Linked DNA regions of Homo sapiens: region 2 is linked to region 1. Evidence: promoter capture Hi-C in 16 types of primary human blood cells and fetal thymus (Javierre and others, 2016). All regions are on one chromosome and are shown on one strand. Each heading gives the region's core, a stretch centred on a gene start or on the middle of the fragment in contact. The rest is flanking DNA. Distances are from core to core; before and after follow the strand shown. Region 1 holds the start of OR5A2 (olfactory receptor family 5 subfamily A member 2). Region 2 has its middle 58 kb from the start of OR5AN1.

Region 1 (3,464 bases), core at 464-2,963:
TATTATTTGTATGGAATTTGTTTGCCCATGCATGTTTGCACCCAATGGTAACTGTGGTTCTGTGTCACTTATCATATTAAAAACTGCTCCTAGCTTTGTGTTTTTTACAAATTTCTAATCTCCCCTCAAATCACTGGTCAAGCAGTCAAAACCAAGACGAGCCTAGATTGATCTTCACTAAAACATCAATCTATTTAATCCTATCAAAAAGGAAGTAAGAGGAATTTGGTATCTCTTATCTTGGTGAAATCTTCCCTACCAGAATGTAAGTTACTCAAAGACAGGCAGGGAGTTTTGCCCATTCTGTTTCCTGATCTATCCTTGTAACCACCCAATGGGTTCACCTTGCCCACTGCCTAGACAGAGCTCATTTATCAAGACAGGGGAATTGCAATGGAGAAAGAGTAATTCAGGCAGAGCTGGTTGTGCAGGAGGACTGGAGTTTTATTATTACTCAAATTAGTCTCCCTGAGCATCAGGGATCAGAGTTTTTAAAGATAATTTGGCGAGTAGGGGCTTGGGAAGTGGGGAATGCTGATTGGTTAGGCTGGAGATGGAATCAAATGGGTCGAAGTGAGTTTTTCTTGCTGTCTTCTGTTCCTGGGTGGGATGGCAGAACTGGTTGAGCCAGTTAACGGGTCTGGGTGGTGTCAGCTGATCCATCTAGTGCAGGGTCTGCAAAATATCTCAAGCACTGATCTTAGGTTTTACAGTAGTGATGTTATCCCCGGGGCCAATTTGGGAAGGTTTATACTCTTGGAGTCAGAGGCTGCATGACCCCTAAACAGTAATTTCTAATCTTGCAGCTAATTTGTTAGTCCTGCAAAGACAGACTGGTCCCTAGGCAAAAGGGGGGTCTCTTCAGGAAAGAGCTGCTATTAATTTTGTTTCAGAGTCAAACCATGAACTGAATTCCTTCCCAAAGTTACTTCAGCTTATGCCCAAGAATGGACAAAGACAGCTTAAAGATTAGAAGCAAGATGGAGTCAGGTAGATATGATTTCTTTGACTGTCATAATTTCCTCAGTTATAATTTTGCAAAGACAGTTTTATCATAAGTACAAAGAACAGGGCCTGGGACATAGGTGCCCACTAAATATTTTGCTGAATAAATAGATTTTTTTCCACCACTTATCCTCAGAGTTTACCAGAAGGGTTTGGCCTATGACTTACTATATTTGGTGTGTTACTATTATAAGAACAAAACACATAATATATAATTAATCACAAACAATAATCATATAACGATCATAATATAATAATATAATCAAACACTTATTTAGTACTTATTGTGTGCGAGGTACTGTTTGAAAGACTTGATTTTTATAAACCCATTTAATTCTCCTAATAGACTCAAGAAGTGGCAGCGTTTCTCGCCCCATTTTACAAATAAAAGGTAGAATAGGCTGTAAATGCATAGTTGTGATTTGCTGCTGAATGGATGAGGTAGGAGGGAATGAGCTGGACTTACTGGATTGCATTGGGCAGAAGGGTCCTGCAATCTTGTGCTACAAGAGAAGAAATATTGATTGCTTTGTTGCCATAACATCTTTTGCAAACCAGATCATCTGCATTTCCCACTGCTCCATGGCTGGTTTCTCGTTCCATCAATTTCTTATGCTTTGGCCTCATGTAAATAGTAAACCATGCTTCTGGAATCTCCGCTCCTTTGTTAACAAGTCTTCCAAATAAATGGGCTGTGGGAGTTCATTATTTTAATGGGCAGAGGTAGCCACATTCTTTCCCCAAGAGGCTGCCCTCTGCCACTCACTCCAGGGTCCAACATAAAAAGCCCAGCAATCATTAGAGCTAAACATTTCTGAGCACTAATTGTTCCCTGGAGTGGTGGCGAAAAGAGCCAACCGCTCATCACGGGAGCCTCTTTCCATCCCCCTACCTATTCTTCTCTGAGCTTTCCCTGATTTGAGTCCAGGAAGACTCCCTGCTGGGTTAGTAGATGCCTTTTGCTTAAAAGAAATTTCATCAGAAGTAAATCACACATAAACACACCAAGCCTTGTGCTGAAATATACTGGTTAGAAACACATGTTTCCAACTCTGAGAATTGGGTTTAAATTCTGGCTCTGCCCTTTTATCAATATAAACATGTTCAATGTTGTTTAATGTCTTAAACTTATCAACTCCCTCATTTGTAAAACTGGTGTAACAAGAATACCTACCTCAACAGAGTTGTGATAATTAAATAAGCTGTGAATAAGAAAGGCTTAGCACAGTGCCTAACAAACAGAAATCACTCAATGAATGTAAACTAATGATGTCATTAACTCTGTTTCTTGGGTCATGGCCAAAAATATGTCTTTCCTTTCTATCTTTTTATTGTGACTTATTTGCATCACGATGAAAAGATTTCTTTTCTCTTTATTTTTTTTAATGAGGCTGGATGGGATGAAGGGCTTGATGGGGCTCTTCTTTTCTCTTTTTAATATTTTGGGTGCTACTACCAGCAATGCCACTACCTGGATGAGTCACTGTGGGCAAGTCAATTAACCCCTCCAGCCTGAGTGAATTGGGCTCACTCTCCAAGAATTCCTCCAGCCCTGAAAGTCTGATGTTTCAAAACATTGATTTCCTGTTTTTTTAAATGTTTTCTTCAGAAATAAAGTTTATAAAAAATGAATTCATCTATTTCATGGAGACTAAGTCAGCAATCCTCAGTCTCAAAAGAAAAAAAATTAAATGAGAGAAATGTCTTCTATATAAAGGGGTATAATTACTGAGACTCTTGACTTACAAGGTAACAGGCTTAATTTAGGGAAGAAATTTAGCAACTAAGACTGTTGACAGAAACGGAGGTAAATGTCTTCAAGAATCAACTGTGAACATGAAAAGGCAAGGAAGTCCATCCTCAAAAGAAACATTCTTATCTAAGTTTGAAGATAAACTGTCCTAGGAAATTCTGATGCTGAAAGAGTAAACCCCAACTAACTATGAAAGAGTTTGATACTGAGTTAAGATCTGGGAAATTTAAAAGGTAGATCTCACAGTTATGAAGGATACATTTTTCTAGGATTAGAAAAGGCTGATAAGGGCCGGGCGCGGTGGCTCATGCCTGTAATCCCAGCACTTTGGGAGGCCGAGGCGGGCAGATCACGAGGTCAGGAAATTGAGACTATCCTAGTTAACACGGTGAAACCCCGTCTCTACTAAAAATACAAACAAAAAAAAAATTAGCCAGGCGTGGTGGCGGGCACCTGTAGTCCCAGCTACTCAGGAGGCTGAGGCAGGAGAATGGCATGAACCCGGGAGGCAGAGCTTGCAGTGAGCCGAGATCGCGCCACTGCACTCCAGCCTGGACGACAGAGAGAGACTCCGTCTCAAAAAAAAAAAGAAAAAGAAAAAGAAAAGGCTGATAAGATAGGGTAGTGATAGATTTCATCTGTCATGGCAACTCTGATTATAGTGATAATGACTATCTACAAAGTAAGATTGAGAATCTTAAGAATA
Region 2 (3,464 bases), core at 280-2,779, 130 kb before region 1:
CCATTTGCCTTCAGGCTTCCAAATGACATCAGCCTAACCTAAAAAGTGCCTCTTACATTCTCCTTCAGCTGAAAATGATTTAACATGAAGAGCTTTGCACACACAAGACTGGAAACACACAGTGGAATTTCTCTTATGTCCTTATTTCTCAGTCTCCACATCTTCCCTGTCACATGACTTCCTTCTTGAGGAAGATTTGAACAAAAGAAGAGACTGAACTGTGCTTGGTCTCTCTAGGTTAACTACTGGCAGATTTCATATTTCTAAATTTATTACATTATTGGGTAACATAAAGCCAATCTCACATTCAATCTTTTCCTCTTTTACCATGGGATATTCAGATAAACTTGAGCTAAAGCAAAGTAAAAATTGCCACCATTTTTCTTTCTACCTGAAATAACCATGAATAAGTTAAGATGAATAAAGCACTTTAAGTGGTTCTTCCATCACAGAATTATGTAGAATTGGGAGCTTTGGGTCCCCTATTGAAATATTCCTATTGCCTCTTCTATTTATTGGTAATCTCAATATGAGATTAAGAGCAAAGCCTGGATTGTGAGTCTATTCAGTCTCTAGACTTTGTTCTTGCTTTGCTAGTTACTCAAATATCTCAACTGCTAGAATGACAAATATGGATGGGAAATAGAGATTTCAGAATTGAAATATAGACAACATTCTAGCCCAACAGGTAACTTTGCACAAGTCCTGGAGTTTCCCTGAGCCCTCATCTTACCAACTGTGAAACACAAACAATAGGAGCTTCCTCTGTACAGTAGGTGCAGTTGCTGAGAGGATTGGCTGCAATCCTCCATGTAAAGCTCTACAAGGCGCAGACAGGAGCTCAATGTATATCAGCTCTCAGTTTTGCTGAGCTTGCTATGCAGTCTTCAGGATGTGAGTAGGGGAAGAGGCATGTTAGAGAGTCTAAGGAACTTGACTTTCTCCCTGGTTACCTATTTGACACTATGGGACATCATATTGACTCACAGAGACAATATGTTTACTAATATCCTAAACAAAGCCATGAATCTCTCTAAGGAAAACAATCTGATTGCAATGTCATCTGGATTAATGGCACAGGTAAATGAGAAGTGATTACTTGCAGCCGGGCATAGTGGCTCACACCTGCAATCCCAGAACTTTGGGAGGCTGAAGTGGGTGGATCACCTGAGGTCAGGAATTCAAGAACAGCATGGCCAACATGGTGAAACCCTACCTCTACTAAAAATACAAAAATTAGCTGGGCTTGGTGGCACACGCCTGTAATCCCAGCTACTAGGGAGGCTGAGGCAGGGGAATTGCTCGAACCTGGGAGGTGGAGGTTGCAGTGAGCCGAGATTGAGCCACTGCACTCCAGCCTGGGTGACAGAGAGGGACTTCCCCCGACCAAAAAAAAAGAAGTGATTTAGTATCTTTGTCAAAAAATTCATTTTAGGACTTTTTTAGAATGTGGTTGACAAGCATTTTCTTTAAATGATCAGCTAGTAAATATTTCAGGCTTTGCAACCAAATGGTTTCTGTGGTAACTATCTAACTGCCATTGTACCACAAAAGTAGGTGATAAGAAAATGCATGCACATGAATTTGTTTCAATAAGTCTTTATTTACAAAAATAGTTTGGGGCTCTATTTGGGGAGGAACACTCAAGAAACAGAAGGAAGTGGGCATTGTGTAAACCCACAGGACACTACAGCTTCTTTCAAGGATTTGTGAAAGATGGTGGCCATACCCTGCTGATGTTGGCAGCTCTTCAACTTGCATCCAGATGAGAAAAATATGTTACAGTTTCCCTTCTCCACCCAAAATTCAATCAGTTTCTCCTCTGCCAGGGCCAGAGTCTCCTACTGTGAAGCTAAGCAAATTATACCCCCTCCTCGAGTTCCCAGCTCTGGGCATCACGCCTGCATTCTTGGGGTCTCTCTCTAAGGCTAGATATTGGGGAAATGATTACTATGACCAATGCAGTAGTTTGTAATTAAATCTTTTGTGTGGAAAAAAAAACCTGAAAACCTAAAGAAACCTCTGTTTTTTCACTTCTTATTGTGGACTGAAGGGTGTAAGGATAGCAAACTAGAAGAGAAGACTGTGGTGTTTTACAATTCCTGCCTCCCTTGCCCCCTCCTTCAGAATAGATTCTCCTGTTCTTTGATACTACTTATCCATAGATCTAATTATCTATAGAATCAATAGAATCCTTCTTTCATGCCATCTCTACCTCCAGGCAATTTTTTGACATCAGCGGGGACTCACTCAATTTTAAAGTGATTGTTAACAATTTGCCTTCAGACTCTCCAATTCAATCCTTCCTCCTTAATCTGCAAGTGAGCCTCCCTAAAGTACAAATCCAATCATGTCATTCTTTGCTCAAGAGCCTTCATTATTTTTGTTGTTCATTCATGGCCTGATGACATCCAAATTCCTTATCCTGATCCTCAAGGCTGTCACCACCCGGTGATACTTAGTGAACATGACATGGAACTCAAGGGGGAAAAATATGAGCAGAGAGCTGTTGATTTGGCAAGAACGAAGGAAGATGTGGTCTTACCAGCACAATTTCAACAGATTTGTTAGGGTAGAACTCACCAGTCTCAGATAGGGATATCTGGAATGGGGCTGAGAGGGGATTAGAGCAAAGCCAGGTATTGAAGGAAGTTATGCCAGTGTAGCAGTGAAAGGAGAGAAGAAAATGGAAAAGTAGGAACAGTAGATGGCAATGTCAAGCAAAGGAATCCTCAAAATTAAGGAAACTGGACCAGATTTTGAGACTGAAGCAAACACTTCAGTGTTTTTCAGAGAGGGATACTCTGAGGCAGTGCTCACGCTATCACAGCCAGTCATTGATAGGGCCAGAATTTAGCTGACGCCTTCAGTCACAGGAAAAGACAGCTGCATGAGAACACAGGCTAGTGGTAATGGAAGGAACAAAGAACCCAGAATTAGGATGAGAGGGGCTTAAAGAGGGAGGCAGTGGCACAGAGGACAAAGTTGTAGAATTTTATACTTTTGCTTAAAGCATGTCTTGTCTGTCTTGGTAAGTAGCTGTTTTCACTCATTGAAAATAATGTAAACAGTCATTTATTTATTTTACTGTGTCCAGGGTAAATATAAGAAGGTGTTCTCTAAAATCATTCTCAGTCTTCAAATAGACTTATAAACCAGCCTGGTAAAACCTAGAAAATAGTTGCCCAACTACATCTGTAGGGCATCTGTGGCCTTCCACCCATAGTGTCTGCTGTCTGTTCTTTTAAGAGACTGATTCTTTGATCCTGCTTGGAGTGATGGGAGGGGTAGACCCTCTTCTGGGAAGCCACAATGCTGTGGTATCCCCTGCTGATAGAGCTCACCCTGTGCCTTTCTTTAAAAAGCTTTCTGAGACAAGGAATATGGGCAAGCATGGAGTCATTGGGAATCATGCATCCAATTGACTCAATTAACTTGATGTACATTGTGACATCGAGTTATCC

The links. Contacts are between HindIII fragments. The CHiCAGO score rates a contact against its expected background, and 5 or more counts as called.
Region 2: a fragment that was not itself captured here is called in contact with the fragment with the promoter of OR5A2 in region 1 in 2 of 17 cell types (total B cells and M0 macrophages); the score reaches 6.2 in total B cells.

What each region holds. Positions count from the first base shown.
Region 1 is chr11:59,424,700-59,428,163 of GRCh38, forward strand. It overlaps OR5A2 (olfactory receptor family 5 subfamily A member 2), which reads right to left and starts at 1,714. Exons shown (of 2, transcript NM_001001954.2): 1 at 1,472-1,714. The HindIII fragment of the contact is 12,260 bases long and covers 1-3,464 here.
Region 2 is chr11:59,299,570-59,303,033 of GRCh38, forward strand. No RefSeq gene overlaps it. Among named protein-coding and RNA genes, the nearest start is that of OR5AN1, 58 kb to the right of the region's middle. The HindIII fragment of the contact is 3,668 bases long and covers 1-3,363 here.